6 separate regions of the Homo sapiens genome follow, and regions 1, 2, 4, 5 and 6 are each linked to region 3. Evidence: promoter capture Hi-C in 16 types of primary human blood cells and fetal thymus (Javierre and others, 2016). All regions are on one chromosome and are shown on one strand. Each heading gives the region's core, a stretch centred on a gene start or on the middle of the fragment in contact. The rest is flanking DNA. Distances are from core to core; before and after follow the strand shown. Region 1 overlaps LOC105370777 (a long non-coding RNA gene). Region 2 overlaps LOC105370777 (a long non-coding RNA gene). Region 3 holds the start of THBS1 (thrombospondin 1). Region 4 overlaps LOC105370777 (a long non-coding RNA gene). Region 5 overlaps LOC105370777 (a long non-coding RNA gene). Region 6 overlaps LOC105370777 (a long non-coding RNA gene).

What was found. The method cuts DNA at HindIII sites, captures the fragments that hold promoters and counts their contacts. A CHiCAGO score of 5 or more calls a contact.
Region 1: a fragment that was not itself captured here is called in contact with the fragment with the promoter of THBS1 in region 3 in 4 of 17 cell types (monocytes, M2 macrophages, endothelial precursors and 1 more); the score reaches 14.3 in monocytes.
Region 2: a fragment that was not itself captured here is called in contact with the fragment with the promoter of THBS1 in region 3 in 1 of 17 cell types (monocytes); the score reaches 9.7 in monocytes.
Region 4: a contact is called between a fragment that was not itself captured here and the fragment with the promoter of THBS1 in region 3, in 2 of 17 cell types (monocytes and endothelial precursors). The highest score is 12.5, in monocytes.
Region 5: a fragment that was not itself captured here is called in contact with the fragment with the promoter of THBS1 in region 3 in 6 of 17 cell types (monocytes, endothelial precursors, M1 macrophages and 3 more); the score reaches 13.4 in monocytes.
Region 6: a fragment that was not itself captured here is called in contact with the fragment with the promoter of THBS1 in region 3 in 1 of 17 cell types (M2 macrophages); the score reaches 6.1 in M2 macrophages.

Annotation. Positions count from the first base shown.
Region 1 is chr15:39,295,709-39,298,408 of GRCh38, forward strand. The region is part of intron 1 of LOC105370777 (a long non-coding RNA gene); the gene reads right to left. Among named protein-coding and RNA genes, the nearest start is that of LINC02915, 46 kb to the left of the region's middle. The HindIII fragment of the contact is 750 bases long and covers 1,051-1,800 here.
Region 2 is chr15:39,278,994-39,281,801 of GRCh38, forward strand. All of the region lies in intron 1 of LOC105370777 (a long non-coding RNA gene), which reads right to left. Among named protein-coding and RNA genes, the nearest start is that of LINC02915, 30 kb to the left of the region's middle. The HindIII fragment of the contact is 5,147 bases long and covers 1-2,808 here.
Region 3 is chr15:39,579,761-39,582,598 of GRCh38, forward strand. THBS1 (thrombospondin 1) reads left to right here and starts at 1,319. Exons shown (of 22, transcript NM_003246.4): 1 at 1,319-1,468; 2 at 2,069-2,164; 3 at 2,433-2,838. The coding sequence starts at 2,098. LOC124903470 reads left to right here and starts at 47. Exons shown (of 1, transcript XM_047433405.1): 1 at 47-1,234. The coding sequence starts at 558. The coding sequence ends at 992. RefSeq lists an enhancer at 410-1,147 and silencers at 570-799, 810-859. The HindIII fragment of the contact is 3,699 bases long and covers 48-2,838 here.
Region 4 is chr15:39,237,886-39,240,743 of GRCh38, forward strand. The region is part of intron 1 of LOC105370777 (a long non-coding RNA gene); the gene reads right to left. Among named protein-coding and RNA genes, the nearest start is that of LINC02915, 11 kb to the right of the region's middle. The HindIII fragment of the contact is 1,605 bases long and covers 798-2,402 here.
Region 5 is chr15:39,199,154-39,201,853 of GRCh38, forward strand. All of the region lies in intron 1 of LOC105370777 (a long non-coding RNA gene), which reads right to left. Among named protein-coding and RNA genes, the nearest start is that of LINC02915, 50 kb to the right of the region's middle. The HindIII fragment of the contact is 3,871 bases long and covers 1-2,700 here.
Region 6 is chr15:39,079,437-39,082,265 of GRCh38, forward strand. All of the region lies in intron 1 of LOC105370777 (a long non-coding RNA gene), which reads right to left. Among named protein-coding and RNA genes, the nearest start is that of LINC02915, 170 kb to the right of the region's middle. The HindIII fragment of the contact is 2,824 bases long and covers 136-2,829 here.

The DNA.
Region 1 (2,700 bases), core at 176-2,675, 280 kb before region 3:
TCAGCCTAATCAATACTGACAGCATATAAAGACTAGAGTTGAAAACATAGGCAGTGGGGCCATGTTTCCAATAATGGAGTGTACATTCCATCACTTCCTAGCTATACTGGTTTTCTACAGCTATTGGACCAAATTATTACAAACTAAGTGGCTTAAAAACAATAAGTTAACTTTCTCACAGTTTTGGAGGCCAGAAGTCTGAAATCAAGGTGTTAGAAGGGCTGGTTGCTTCTGAAGCCTCTGAGGGATAATTTGTTCAATGCCTGTCTCCCAGTTTGGGGTGGTAGTCAGCAATTTTTGGCATTCCTTCTCTGGTAGATGCATCGTTCTAATCTGTCTTCATCTTCACATGGTGTTCTTCTCTGCATGTGTCTCAAATCTCCCTTCTTTTCTTTCAAAAGGAGACCAATCATCGGATTTAGGGCCCACCCTAAATCCAAGATAATCTCATCTCAAGATTCTTAATTATATCAACAACGACCCTATTTCCAAATGAGGTCACATTCACGGGTACCAAGGATTAGGACTTGCACATATCTTACGGGAATCTATTCAACCCACTACACCAGCTGCATGACCTTGGGCAGGTTATGCAAACGTTAAGCCTCAATTCCTTTATCTATAAGGTATTAATAATAACAACACTAGAATTATAATCAAGATTAAACAAGATAACGTATATAAAGTGCCTAATATATTGCTTGGTTTATAGTGAATACTCAACAATTGTTAGCTGCCAGTATTACTATTATTTTCATTATTTTACTATTAAACACTCTGCAGGATTCAGAAAAAATAAAACACAAATCCTGTCCCCAAAAGTCTTACAATCCAAGAAAGGATGAATGTACATTTACGCCAGGCCTGACTTTAACTTTGTAACTCAGTATCATTAAGCACATGGGTGCTAAGACATTTTAGGGTACAGAAGACAGACTACAGGTTGATTCTTGAGGTGCTGAAAGACTAAAAACTTTCCCTCTTTAAAATCAGCATGCTCTCCTGTCCCTTTCTTCTAGAACTTCCCAAGGAAAGAGCAAGTGAAAAAGAAGCTTTTGCTATGCTCCTTCTAGTTTTCCACAATCACAAATGAAACATCACTTAAAATTGCTAGGTACAAGGGCCACTTGTGTGAGAATTTACACAGGCAGCAGCAGGCAACATCTTCCCACTAATCTTCCCCACTGGCTCTAGTTTCTTACCACTTGTCAATACATTGACATATTATAATACATGAAGGTACAAATCAAACATTATGTACACAATTCATTCTTCTCATACTGTCGGCTGCCCCAGTAAGTCAGCATTGTCACAAAATGAAATTGAATCTCAAAGGACTCAAACACCAAGTGGAATGGAGTATTAATGAGTAGAAGATCCACCAGAGTAATGTGTTAGGCCTTCTGAAGAAAAGAAAATGCAAATGACACCTGAGTACAGCACTAGTCTCACAATGACATGTTTCTTAGTAATTGAACAAAATATGTAACTATTCTCAGTTGCATTTCCCTCTCAGTCCTATGTTCATTTATTTGTGGAACCTAAAAGAAAAGTAGAGGTTTCACCCAACAGAAAAGGAGAGATATCACCCAAACACTCAACAAGATATACATACCCAAATAACTGGTTATTCAGTGAGTTCCAATTTACTAAGTAGGTTTCATGTAGTCAAAACAGTCAAATAGATTTATATATAGACATGATCTTTAATACATTTATATTAGTTATTAATTAATTTCACTCCAAATCATTGAGGCTTAATTTAAATGAACCCTTATGAAAAAGGTAATAACACTTACAAGCTTAACAAAATGAAAAGTTTGAACTGGGTGGGGAGAAAGGTTTTTGTTCATTGTTTTCTAAATTCTTAAACAAAAACCATAGACATGTAAGGAGGCTTTGGAAAATTTTAAAGCGAAAAGATCTGAGGAGGTTTTTGACCAAAAAAAACAAACCCAATCAATTTTAATGTAATGCCTAAGATCCAAGGATGTAATGACAAGAGAAAACAGAAGCCATTTGTGTAGTTTGAATTTAGCTATTTTTTCCTGAGACTTACTCTATTTGCAGTTGATGGGGTTAATGAGTGGGTCTGTTGGCCTGGTGGTTATATGATCCTATGCAAAAGCCACATGGCAAGAGAAACCATTCCCCATATGTCCTGATTTGGATCACTCCTGTGCTGTCTGCAGTAAAGGATCATTTCATCCAAATCTGTGGTCAGTGGCAAAACTATTTGTTGAACTATCCCAAAGCACAGAGCCTCACTTATTGATGAAGTGACAACTCAGGGGGCCATACAAATGGTTTTGTGTTTTTTTGTTTTTCCCAGGGAAGAGAAAATTAGTGCTGGAACTCAGGTGCATTCATTACGGAAACTGAAGTCTAAGATGTCACCACAAATATCATACAGTGAATGACTCCAAATCTGGAGGGGTGGAATCATGAAATGCAAGGGGAAATAATATTCTGGGATCCAAATACACAGCCAGAAATGGGCTTCTCTCAACTGATTTGTATGAGGTCAGAGCTTTGCTCTGGTATTTGAGTAGAAACAAAATCTTGGGAGTATGTTTCCTTTTTGGAAGTCCCCCCAGTTCTGCAGTACAGTTGTCTAGGACCAAATCTCCTTCAAGAAAATAAGGAGGGAAATTGGTTTCCAATTAAATGCTGAATGTACCATCAGAACCAAGCAAAGCT
Region 2 (2,808 bases), core at 50-2,549, 300 kb before region 3:
ATACAAAAAAAAAAAAAGTAGCCGGGCGTGATGGCAGGCGCCTATAGTCCCAGCTACTCAGGAGGCTGAGGCAGGAGAATGGCATGAACCCGGGAGGCGGAGCTTGCAGTGAGCCAAGATCGCACCACTGCACTCCAGCCTGGGCAACAGAGCAAGACTCCGTCTCAAAAAAAAAAAATAGAACACTAAAAATACATATGTTTCACAAACGATATGTATTTGGGCAATATAAAGAATTCTTGCAATTAAGTAGTTTTTAAACAAAACAAATAACCCAATAAAAATGGGCAAAAGATTTGGACAGACATTTCACAAAAGAAGATATAAGAATGCTCAACATGTGAGTAATCAGGAAAATAAAAGTTAAAGCTACAATGAGATACCACTATACACCCACTAGAATGGTTAAAATTAAAAAGCCTAAAAATGCCAAATGTTACTTACGATCTTGCAATTCCTCTCCTTGGTGTTCACCCAAAAGAAATGAAAACATATGTCCACCAAGTAACTTGTACAAGATTGTTCTTTGCAGCTTTATTCACAATAGCCAAAAACTAAAAGCAACATGATGTCCATTAAAAGGAAAATGGATAAACAAATTGTGGTATATTTATACAATGCAAAATGAGTCAACCAAAGCAGAAAAAATGAATTAACTACCGATACATGTGATAACTTGGATGAATCTCAAAGATAATACGTTGAGGGCAGAGGTGCAATGGGGAAGCCAGACACAAGAGTCCATTTATGTCAATTTCAAGAACAGGCAAAGACTGTATCAAAACATCTCATGCCCCTCATAAATACATACTATGTACCCACAAAAATTTTAGAAATTAAAAAGTTAACAATATGTAAATAAAAAGAATAGGCAAACAGGCAAAGCTAATTTGTCAGGATATCGAAACAGAGATTAACTTTTTTGGGAGGGAGTGGGGAACTGACTGGGAAAAAGCGCGAGGGAATTTTCTAGGGTGATGTAAAGTTCTGTGTAAATGTTCTGTGTAACTGGGATCATCAAAATTTGAGAAATGTGCATTTTACTATAATTACATTTAGGTAATGTAATTTAATAAACTTCAATAAAAATACGCCTCAAACCCCACATTCTTCCTTTTTTTTTCTTCATTTCATTGACTGTGACTTCCCTTCAAAGCTACTGAAGAAAGGGAGGCATAGATTCGTTACCACAAGTTCAGCTCAGCTCCCAACTCTGAACATTCTTTTCAGTTCTTGACTATGGTCATCCCCCAACTCCTGAAGTAGGAGGATTTTCCAAGCATAAAAGAATGACCAGGTTTAGATTTAGACCAGATTTTCTAGAACCTAAGAAAATAAGCATATGTACTTTGCTAAACTACCTGCCTATCTGATAACCTGATTTTAGTATCTGATGTAGAACTTGGAAGCCATAAATTTGAAAATCCCAAATTGCAAATTAACAAATTGAGCATTTATTTGAGGAACAAGTATCATGTTTATGAGCAGCACCCACAGAGTTTGGAAGAGAAGGTTTACCCACTAATAGCCATCCTAACTTACGTTTAAAAAAGTTCATAAACCTCTAGTCAGCTATAGAACATGGGATCATGGGGGCTGCACAGTGACTAAAAGGGATTTTAAAACTGTAAATATGCCCAGGCACAGTGGCTCACGCCTGTAATCCCAACACTTTGGGAGGGTGAGGCGGGTGGATCACCTGAGGTCAGGAGTTCGAGACCAGCCTCACCAACATGGTAAAACCCGTCTCTACTAAAGATACAAAAATTAGCCAGGTGTGGTGGCGTGTGCCTGTAATCTCAGCTACTTGGAAGGTTGAGGCACAAGAGTCACTTGAACCCAGGAGGCAGAGGTTGCAGTGAGCTGAGATCGTGCCATCGCAACTGCAGCCCGGGTGACAGAACGAGACTCTGTTTAAAAAAAAAAAAAAAAAAAAAAAAAAACTATATCCGAATTATTAAAAATTTAACCAATTAGTCAAAATAAACTTTGTGAAAGAATTGAGCCAATCATTGTTGCCAATGTGCTAAGGACTCAGGGATCAGGACAGATGGAACAAAAATGTGAACACATTTGTAGTCATATTTAGATAAGAAAATCATTCTTAATCCATATGATAAAAGTATCCTTTTATCTTTTCTAATTATCATTCTATAGATATTAATGTGAGAATACTCTCCAACTCCTTTAAAAAACCTGTTGCTCAAAATGTTCTTCATTTAAAGGAACTGGTAATGATAAGTGGGAAATGACACATACTACTGGTGTAGCTGGTGGAGCCATTGACATCTCACCTCTGTGGGTTGTTTAGAGATAAAATTCGTTTCTTTCATAGCAAGGAGCATTCTAAGGATTCTTGGTGAGGTGGTTTTGTTTTATTCCCTGGAATATGGAGAATAGCTGTGGCAGATATCCAGGGGTTGTTTTCTCCAGCATGTTCTAACATACTTTAACTTTTTTTTTTTTAATTATACTTTAAGTTCTAGGGTACATGTGCACAACGTGCAGGTTTGTTACATATGTATACATGTGCCATGTTGGTGTGCTGCACCCATTAACTCGTCATTTACATTAGGTATATTTCCTAATGCTATCCCTCCCAGCCCCCCTCACCCCACAACAGGCCCCGGTATGTGATGTTCCACTTCCTGCGTCCAAGTGTTCTCATTGTTCAATTCCCACCTATGCGTGAGAACATGCAGTGTTTGTTTTTTTGTCCTTGCAATAGTTTGCTGAGAATGATGGTTTCCAGCTTCATCCATGTCCCTACAAGGGACATGAACTCATCATTTTTTATGGCTCCATAGT
Region 3 (2,838 bases), core at 69-2,568:
AACCCCAGGGGTTTCCCCCTGCCCGTGCTGAGATCCTTATTTGGTCAAGCTTCTACCTATGCCCTGGCCTCGGAGCGAGCCCGATAGCGCTGGATCACAGCAGAGGGAGCGAGGCGGCTGACGTCCCATCCCGAAGAGATGAATGGAATTCCAGGAAGCTAGAGTCATGCTGGCTTGGGACAGTGGCTTGGAGACCAGACTTCAATGACAGAAGCACTAGGCAGCGGCACTCATGGCAATGTGTGCACCCACAGAAATGTAACCCACACCTCGGGTTCAGGAGCCGAAAAATGAAAAGAACGTTTAGGGAGGAAAAAGGGAAATACAATAATAGGCAGAGAGTAATTTATTACTCTATGGGTCTGCTCTGTAAATAGCTGAAGACTCTGGAGCCAGATGGTTCTGCAAATTCTCCAAACAGGAGTCACGTTAAGAAGCACGAGTGGGCACAAAAACTGTTTTTCAAGACACAATTTCAATTTGGCTTGTGGAAACTGGATACGAGTAAGTTTCCTTAAAATTCGAGTAGAAAGCAGCTGTCCTCCCCGGGCCCCTTGATGAGAATACGCACACCGCCCCCAAGCGGCCGGCCGAGGGAGCGCCGCGGCAGCGGGAGAGGCGTCTCTGTGGGCCCCCTGGCAGCCGCGGCAGGAAAGGGCCCGAAGGCAGCGAAGGCGAACGCGGCGCACCAACCTGCCGGCCCCGCCGACGCCGCGCTCACCTCCCTCCGGGGCGGGCGTGGGGCCAGCTCAGGACAGGCGCTCGGGGGACGCGTGTCCTCACCCCACGGGGACGGTGGAGGAGAGTCAGCGAGGGCCCGAGGGGCAGGTACTTTAACGAATGGCTCTCTTGGTGTCCCCTGCGCCCCGTCGGCCCATTTTTCTTTTTACAAAACGGGCCCAGTCTCTAGTATCCACCTCTCGCCATCAACCAGGCATTCCGGGAGATCAGCTCGCCCGAAAGCCCCTGCGCCACCCCGCGGGCCCTCCTAGGTGGTCTCCCCAGCCCCGTCCCTTTTCGGGATGCTTGCTGATCACCCCGAGCCCGCGTGGCGCAAGAGTACGAGCGCCGAGCCCGTGCGCGCCAAGGCTGCGTGGGCGGGCACCGACTTTTCTGAGAAGTTCTAGTGCTCCCAAGCCCCGACCCCCGCCCCCTTCACTTTCTAGCTGGAAAGTTGCGCGCCAGGCAGCGGGGGGCGGAGAGAGGAGCCCAGACTGGCCCCCACCTCCCGCTTCCTGCCCGGCCGCCGCCCATTGGCCGGAGGAATCCCCAGGAATGCGAGCGCCCCTTTAAAAGCGCGCGGCTCCTCCGCCTTGCCAGCCGCTGCGCCCGAGCTGGCCTGCGAGTTCAGGGCTCCTGTCGCTCTCCAGGAGCAACCTCTACTCCGGACGCACAGGCATTCCCCGCGCCCCTCCAGCCCTCGCCGCCCTCGCCACCGCTCCCGGCCGCCGCGCTCCGGTACACACAGGTAAGTCGCCCCCGGCGGCCGCCGAGGACCAAAGCTGCCCGGGACATCCACCTGGAGCGCTGAGGCTTCAGTCCCTCTGGTGGACCCCGGAACCTACACTCTCCCCGCTCGCCTACCCCAGCCCGCTCCTCTCAGCCGCTGGAGGACTCTTCAGGGCAAGGCTCCAGAGCCATCCTCTCCAGCCTTGAGGTTCACAAACCAACTCATCAGGACACCCCAAGATTTCCTTACTCTCTGAAGTCCTCCTTAAGCCTTTGTATCAGCACTCCAGGGAAGAGTCTGTACTTCCCCTGCCCTCCCTGCAACCCCAAACTACAGTTCCTGATCTTGCTCACCTTCGACTTCCCAAAAGCCCCCAAATTGTTGGTCTTGCGCCCCCCACACTTTAAAACCAGCATCTCTTTCCTCCACCTCTCTCTCTCTCTCTCTCTCTCTCTCTCATGCTCTCTGGAAAGTAATCCTGTTGTCCTTCATTTCAGCAAACGCGGGGTCAAAGAGGGATGGTCCCGGCCCTGTCCCCATGCCCAGCCCCGTTTCTGCGCACCGTCCCTCCCTGCCTAGCTGATCTCTGACCCTCGGCTCTTGTGCTTCCTGCTACAGGATCCCTGCTGGGCACCAACAGCTCCACCATGGGGCTGGCCTGGGGACTAGGCGTCCTGTTCCTGATGCATGTGTGTGGCACCAACCGCATTCCAGGTGAGTTTGTGTGGCACCTTTAGGGGAAGGAGGGACAAGGAAGAGGTGCTGGCTATCCCAGGTGTGCCCCCTCACGTGCTGTCCTCTCCCTCTTGAGCCTGACTGGACATCAGGACGCAGCTTCACTCTGATCCTGGTATTTATTCACCTCTTTCAGTGGTTGCCAGGAGTTTTCACCCCAACCCTTTGTCTCCACCCCTAAGGACTCAGCCCCCTACTGCTGGTCCCAGCCTAGAAAGCTCACTTTGTGTTCTCTCCTGTCTAACAGAGTCTGGCGGAGACAACAGCGTGTTTGACATCTTTGAACTCACCGGGGCCGCCCGCAAGGGGTCTGGGCGCCGACTGGTGAAGGGCCCCGACCCTTCCAGCCCAGCTTTCCGCATCGAGGATGCCAACCTGATCCCCCCTGTGCCTGATGACAAGTTCCAAGACCTGGTGGATGCTGTGCGGGCAGAAAAGGGTTTCCTCCTTCTGGCATCCCTGAGGCAGATGAAGAAGACCCGGGGCACGCTGCTGGCCCTGGAGCGGAAAGACCACTCTGGCCAGGTCTTCAGCGTGGTGTCCAATGGCAAGGCGGGCACCCTGGACCTCAGCCTGACCGTCCAAGGAAAGCAGCACGTGGTGTCTGTGGAAGAAGCTCTCCTGGCAACCGGCCAGTGGAAGAGCATCACCCT
Region 4 (2,858 bases), core at 350-2,849, 340 kb before region 3:
CATGTAAACAACAGATCAAAATATCTTAAAAGAGTTTACCTCTTCATCTTTCTCACTTAGTGTACACAGGCAACATAGAACATTTGGTTATGTGGTATGCAATTCAAATTTGTTCCATGTGATATTCTCTGATTAGAAACTACTGTGTTGAGTGTGTCTTTCTTAACTAATTTTATTTTATTAGTTATACTAATAAAATAATTATTTTTATTAATAAATTAAAAATAAAAATAATAGTTATACTAATAAAATAAAATTAGAAATACTAATTTTATTGTGTATTTTGTAAATTTTTGATTAATAAGTTCTTATGCCATGAAAAGAAGTTGTCTTAAAACTGGCATCATTTTCCAAGTCATTATGGCAAACAACTAACCAAATAGGTATGGGGGGAAAGTCAGTAGAGCAGCAGAAGCAATATGTCATTCCAGTCTGCTTCTTAATGGCATTCTCCCCTCTCCTATGCACAGGGCAGAGAGATCCGGAGCTGCATCCCCTGGTTATACTGCCCACCAAGGCTGAGCCAGAGAAAGCAGCCCCACTGAGGCCCATGACATCTGGATTCTTCGTCTCGTCAAATGTCAACACCCTCGTAAATGTAAAACGGACTCCAATTCTTTTCATTTTTCTTGATTGCAGGATAAGAAAGTTCCTCTGAGATTAAGACTGAGAAAGGTCTTAAAAGCCAAGACTCCAAATGGCATCAGGAAACCCAGGCTCTTCGAAATATGCAGTGAAAAATGAAACCCTTGCAAGATGAGACATTTGATAAAGAAGAAAACATCAAATTTTCTTGAAGCTTTCCTCTCACTGTAACTCTGCCTCCTTGGATTGAAGCTACAGAGAAGAATGCAGCCTGCGGGTGCTCATGCCTGAGCATCATCTCCTCTTTTCCACCTGCTGAGCTATGTCTAAATAGACATCCTCTACCTTTGGCCCAAAACTTTCTGTTCCTGAATAGAAAGAACATTCTTGTCATATCAAGAGTTCTGGGATATTCTGGGAGCAGTTTAGAGCTTTCAATCAGTATAAAGTTTCTTTTCTCATGAAAAGATCTTGCCACAGGGGATGAGAAACAAGCTATTGAGCATCTAATATATGTGTATACCATGCTAATCAATTGTACATACTTCAGTCTATTTAATTAACAGAAACACCCTCCAAGGAAGTCTTATCCCCCTCAATTAAGTAGATTAAAAATAAACGTCTTGGAGAAGATAAGGTGATTGAGCTTGTAAGAGAGCCATGCCTTTTGCACTAAACTACACAGACCTAATCCCTGTACATATATCTGCCTTCCATTCCCAAGATCTCTTGGTAGGGTCTTCCAGAGATCTTCTAGGAATGTACTTAATAACTGGTTCTTCCATTATTTTTCTACCATTGAACTTGAAGAAGATGTGACTGGGGAATAAAGGCAAAGCCAAGCATGAGAAGGTAGATCTGAAACAGGAATGTTAGACATGGAATACAAGAGGCAGAGCAAGAGTAAGCAAGATAGATAATCCTGTAATCCTTCACATGGGAGGAAAGGTTGTAGTAACAACTCCATTCTAACAAGCACAGATAGTACACAGGTTGTTTTTCATTAAACTTGTGAGAGAAAGAGACACATCTCTAGATATATTATTGGAGTGGTCAAAAATGTCTTCATGAACACAGAACTGAAAGCCTAACACATTCATGCCTAGGCCAAAGAATGTCTAGATGAGATGGCCACTGTGAGATAAACTGCAGTCTTCCACAGTGGACTATGTTTGTCCTTTATTTAAAAAAAAAAAAAGAATCTAATATGGGTGGTTTTTTTTTCCTGTACTTATCCTTACTGACATTTTTACAACAGGTTTTATGTGGTTATCTGCTTATTTATAATATACACATGAATAAATCACTTCCTCAATGCATCTACATTCCTTAAAAAGCCACATGTACTATTACTACATTAGTCATCGGTTTTTCATGGTTGATAAAGCCACTAACAATGTTGAGTTCTGATGAGATAGAATCACCTGTGCCACAATTTCCCCAAATGTTTCTCAGTAAAGCACATTCACCATATACAGATTGTAGTAACAGACTTAGAGCAAAATAATATTGCAACTGTTATGTTTTCCAAGGAACTGAATAATTGTTTTACCTAAGTAAATGAATAACATTGCCTAGTCTCGGAGATTAAAATTTCCCAAATTCATTCTGACTCAAAATGGGCAAATATGTATATAAAAATAAATTTAAAATGTGCACATATTCATTACAGTCTTTAAAAATTGCACTGGGTAGAAGCAGGACATGAAGTGTGGCCCAGTAGTCTAGATTTCCATTTATTTAGGAAAGGGTTTGCCGTGATCTAGCATGAGAGCCACAACCTAACAAAACCAGATCTGTTAGAATGCCTTGGCACAAGCTTTGTCTAGCTATTGGTAAAGCCAAAACATCTCAATTTCAGCTTTTCCCATTCAAACATTACCTTTAATTAGGTTTGTTAAAGGCAAGAGCTAACTACATTGTTTTAAATGTAGAAGACTAAGGCTACAACCTATGTTGTGTGGACCCCCAGAGAAGAGTTTAGGTCATTTTGTTGTTGCTGTTGTCCTTAACGACATGCCAACTGTCAGATCCCAAGGCTGTGAGATGCTCTCCAAGGGAGTGAGAGGGAGGTGAGGTGGTGGGGACTGAATAGAGGGCCAATGAAAACCAAACCAAGTGCCATGTTGGCACCTAGACTGGGGCCAATTCTATGGGTGCTGGAGGAGGGATCGATAGAAACAAGAGAAAAAATAAAACTCCACCTTCTTCAGACCAGTGAAAGTTAAAAGCTTGTAACACCGTCACCCCATGGAAGTCAATGGATAGTGGAC
Region 5 (2,700 bases), core at 80-2,579, 380 kb before region 3:
CCCTCAACAAAGACGTAACACTCAGGGAAAATACCAGGACAATTCAGCTTTGACAAAGTAGTGGCTGGGGGACTCAGAAAGCCTGGGGCTCAGCCAAGTCACATGTGCAGGAATGTCATCAGCAGACACCAATTGCACGAGACTTAGAAAAGGCCTGCCTTAAGTGGATGCAGGGAATCTCATGGTGAAGTCTTTCCCCTAAACAGTACAAGCCACTTGTCTTATCACACACATGCTAGTGATTCAGGGACCTCAGCCTATGCTAGTAGGCAGCAAGGCCACATATTTAGTTAGTGGCTGAGCAGGGATCTGAATACAGGCTGGATTTGCCCCAGAATACAAGCTCTCAATCAACTGTATTATTAGTTTTCTTTTGCTGCTGTATCAAATTGCCAGGAACTTAGTGACCTAAAACAGCACAAATTTATTATCTTACACTTCTGGAGGTCAGAAGTCCCAAGTGGGATCTACTAGGCTAAAATCAAGATGTTGACAGGGCTGCAGGCCTTCTGAAGCATCTAGGAGAAAATCCATCTCCTTGATTTTTCCAGCTTCTAGAGGCCACCTGTATTCCTTGATTCATCCTTAAGGAAGTAGCGTAGCAGCTGTAAATCTCTCTAACTCTGACCCTCTTGTCTTCCTCTTATAAGGACCCTTGTGATTATATGGAGCCTTTCTAGATAATCCAGGATAATCTGCCCATCTCAAATCCTTAATGATGTCTGAAAAGTCAAAGTAACGTATGACAGGGTCCATGGGATTAGGATGTGGATATGTTTGGGAGGAGGTTCTTCCATCTACCATTCCAGGACTCATTCAGCCTCCCCTTCATGTTGACATTGCATCTGGGGCCATAGTTTTTGACAATATACTAAGCCCCACATTCTGAGAATGTAATTTTTTCTGGGATAATTGCTTTAGAGGATGAGGTTTGGCTTCTTTTCTCAATATGGTAGGTGTGGCCCACCAGTGAAAATAATAACTGCTTGAAACTTTTCATCAGTAAAGTCATCAGAAACCCAGCATATATTTTCTGCAGTCCTGCAGGAACCACACCAGCCTCAAGAAGAGCGAGCCCCAGCTGCAAGCCCTGGCAGGACCCCTCACTCTGCTAACACTGTGGAGACCCCTCACCCCAACCCTTAATGGGAAGTCAGTATATAATTAGTCACGTTGGGTTGGGCTTTTAATTCACCAAAGCAGTAGAGTTTGATTCAGACTTTAATTCACTTGGGTTTTGTTAACATTAGACTTAAACTTGCGAAGGGACTAATGTATCGATTTTAATTCTTCTGAGAGAATTTCACAGAGGGAGGAACTATATTCAAATTTGGGGCATCCTCGCTTTCTTGGCATTTTATTCGTGGAGTTTCTCTCTGCATTTTCACTTAATTTTATTTCATAACTTCCAGTAGGTTATATTGGACAGTTACTTCCAATAGATTATATTGAACAGTTGTAGCAGGACAGCACTGAGCAAGGGAAACAGAATAGAAAGAATATTTTTGGCCTTGGAGTCCATTTAATTACTGCATTGTTCTGACCCATTTCAAAGCCTCCTGCAGAAAAATCTCATCTCAGCAGGAGGAAGCCTGCCCAAACCAGCCCTGCTGGGTAAGTTGCTTTAAGTCCAGCAGGAATCAGTGTCTGTAGTGGTGGAGATGAAGCAGGCTGCAGCATGCTATTGCTGAATGGGTTAAAGCTCCAGGACTCCAGGAGGCATCTTTACTTTACAGTCCTCTTACCTCTCTCACCTAGGGCCCCTAGAGTTGTGACAGCCAAGAAATAAGCCACATTCTCTAATATCAGGTGTGTTCATTGAAATGGTGATACTTTGAACTCTAGCTGACTTATTATTTGTCTTTTCTTTTTTCAGTTGGATCCAAATTTAAGTGAAAAATGGGGCTGTTATTTATTGGGACCCCACGAAATTCCCCCTAATTTTTTTTCTCTAGATTGTTATACTGGCCTTCTAGTGGGTCTCTTTCTTCAGTCAGTTCTTGAGGCCTGTGCTGTAGGCATTTGAGTTTGTCATCTTTTGCTTACAGCAGAAGAGCTTAACCCTTTTTGAGACAGGAACCCCTGTGAAAGTCTGGCAGATCCTGAGGACCCCTTTCAGAAATAATATCTTTAAATATGTAACATAAAATACACAAGATTACAAGTAAAATAATCACACTGAAATACAGTTCTCAAAAATGTTTTAAAACAAAATTTACCCTCAGCAGGTGATGATAATTAAGGTAGGAATTAGTGTAGCTTCAAAGAGGATATAAAACATAATTAGTTCTGTAGTTGTGAACGCTATAATTTAAAAAAATCTGCAGGGAAATCAATATAGAAATATAGAGCTTTTTTCGTGGGGGCGTGCAAATATACAATTCATATAATTTATATGAATCCCTATTATTACATTAACATGATTTAGTACTTAACCTATAAGCACCATAATTTAAATATGCTGATAGCACAAATGATATTTCAAGATATCTCTAGCCACCATAACAGAATATGGAAAGATCTATGATCTGTATTTGTAACAAAGTCATAGGAAATAATTCAGATGCGATGTGTTGCCGACATTCATAAATGAAGAAAACGGCAAATTTCAGTTAGAGGTTAGTGAAATATATGTTTCTTTCCAAACTCATGAACTCCCTCCATGGAAACCCAAGTTTTAAGCCCCATTCTTAGAGTGGC
Region 6 (2,829 bases), core at 298-2,797, 500 kb before region 3:
AGAGGGAAACTCTTCCCCCAGCACAGGGACTCCTTCCAGGATCTCCCTTCAATGTGCCAGTCTCTGCCGACAGTTGTGTAGTCTGCCACCTAAAGCAGGCAGATGAGGGTGGAATCCATCCAAGAAAAAACTAAAAGCTTGCCTAGACAGAGTATTAGCTCAGAAACTGCTCTTTTACCTCAGTGGCTTAAGAATTTTGATTCATTTTGTAACAGTTTATCTTCGATGATGCACCAGTGCATGACTCAGTCAGGTGGCCGTCAGCACCTCTGTGCTGGGAATTTACTAAAGCCCATCTTACTTATTCCACAGACAGCCCTGGATGTTTGCCCAAACTTCCTCCTTCTTCCTGGCTCCCATATATGGGAATTTCTTATATGTTAGCCTCTGAGGGAAAGTGTGGAGATGCTGCCCTTTCACTGCCATTTATAGCTTTAGTGATCTGAGGACTCTTCTGTCTTTTGAAACTTCTATTCAAGAACAAATATTAATGATCAATTGAGACCTTAGCTAGGATTTTCAAGAATGCAAAATAGGTTTTCTTTAAAAAAAAAAACAGATAATTGATTTTTCTTCAAATTTGACCTTGCTGAGATCAGAGTGAGGGCAATAGATTTTTTTTTTTCCCCCAAGATGGAGTCTTGCTCTGTCACCCAGGCTGGAGTGCAGTGGTGTGATCTGGGCTCACTGTAACCTCCGCCTCCTGGGTTCAAGCAGTTCTCCTGCCTCAGCCTCCTGAGTAGCTGGGATTACAGGCATCCGCCACCACATCTGGCTAATTTTTATATTTTTAGTAGAGACGCAGTTTCACCATGTAGGCCAGGCTGGTCTCGAACTCCTGACCTCGTGATCTGCCTGCCTCGGCCTCCCAAAGTGCTGGGATTACAGGCATGAGCCACTGCGCCCAGCTGGCAACACATTTTTTAAGCAAGGGCTCGCCAAGTAGTAGATAGACACCACGTTAGGGTCTGGTCCTCTATATTGCGGGTCCAGAGTTTCACACAACCTGAATGCCCCCAGCCTGTGAGCACAAACACATTTACATTGGTGTTATTACTCAAAGACTGTAGGCTTGCTGCCTTCACTTATATCAGGAAGACCATGTATATCAGGAGGACCACGTATAACAGGAGGACCTTGGCCACTTGAGGAGTCTCCTCCAGGTACTTCAGAGCTCCCCACACATGTCTCAGGTGTGTTCAAGCAGGCCCTGCCCATGCTACTCCCACAGGGCCTTGGCTCATGCTGTCCCAACTCACCTGAGCAATGGGTGCATCCAGTGAGCCCTCCGGACCCCACCATCTCCACACCCTCCAAAGAATGCTGCCACTCCTTGGGAGCTTTTCCCACTGCTCAAAGCAATAGCAGAGGCCTGTATTCCATTCGGCCATTGCTCTCGATGGGTGCCCAAAAACTGGTCACAGGGCACTATGTGGTACCAGAATAGCCCTTTCCCCCTGTTTTCTCTCCCTTGCCTCCCATGTCTGTGCACAGAATTTCTTGTGGATACTTTAGCCAAAATAAGTCCAAACCCATTTTAGAGCTCTCCCTTGCCTCCCATGTCTGTGCACAGAATTTCTTGTAGATACTTTAGCCGAAATAAATCAAAACCCAATTCAGAGCCAACAACCCCACATCCTAATCAGACATACCACAAAACTCATATATATATATATATATATATATATATATATATATATATATATATATATATATATATGGTGTGTATGTGTGTGTTTCACAGTTTTGCTCTTGTCACCCAGGCTGGAGCGCAATGGCACAATCTTGGCTCACTGCAACCTCTGTGTCCCGGATTCAAGCGATTCTCCTGCCTCAGTCTCCCAAGTAGCTGGGATTACAGGCATGTGCCACCACACCCGGCTAATTTTGTATTTTTAGTAGAGACGGGGTTTCACCATGCTAGTCAGGCTGGTCTCGAACTTCTGACCTCAGGTGATCCACCTGCCTCGGCCTCCCAAAGTGCTAGGATTACAGGCATGAGCCACCACACCTGGCTGATATTCTTTAGGCTAAGCCAGGGTTAATCCATCTTATACTCAAGTTTAATTCGTGTTGTTAAACCTAGGGAGACACATGAGTATTAAAAGCCACATTTTCAATTTATTAATTTATAAGGAGAAAGTACTACCAAGTTAGCATTATCTCTCTCTTTCTCTCTTTTTTTACTATCTTCTCTTTCTCTTTCCCTCTCTCCCTCTCTTTCAATAGAAAAAGGTACTTAGGTAGTCAAACTTTTAGAGTAATTATTGGTGAGTGGCCCAAGTGAAGAATGACATAATCCAAATGGCCACCATCAATAAGTTATAGCAGCCTTTATTCATACCATTTCAATTTGAGTTTTCAGATCTCCATCATTCATGATTTACAAAACAGGAGAGCAAATCTCATCCTTTAAATTTGATTGACTTTTATGAATTTCACTTGCAAAGAAATCCTAATTCTATACCTTAGATTTCCACCCTCTTAAATCATGGCCACTCCTAGGGTTGGGGTTTGGAATAGAGAACAGTTTAGAATTTATCAAATAAGTTATTTGATAATCCCTTATTAATTAGGATTAGTCTAACTTTGTAATAAGACTTTATCGGAGTTGTCATTTTTACCTATATTCTGGTAATAGGATGTTAAAATAGAATTCTTGGTTTCAGAGCTTTTTGGATGATACGAAGGCCAATAATGACAAAAAAAAAAAAAAAGTGCCAGGTACCACCCTCCACCTCCCTGGTCTTAGAGTGTGGTGCTAGGATACCTATGCAGAGCAAGCTGAAAGATTCTAATATCAGTTCTGTCAACATTAGCCCCTCACCC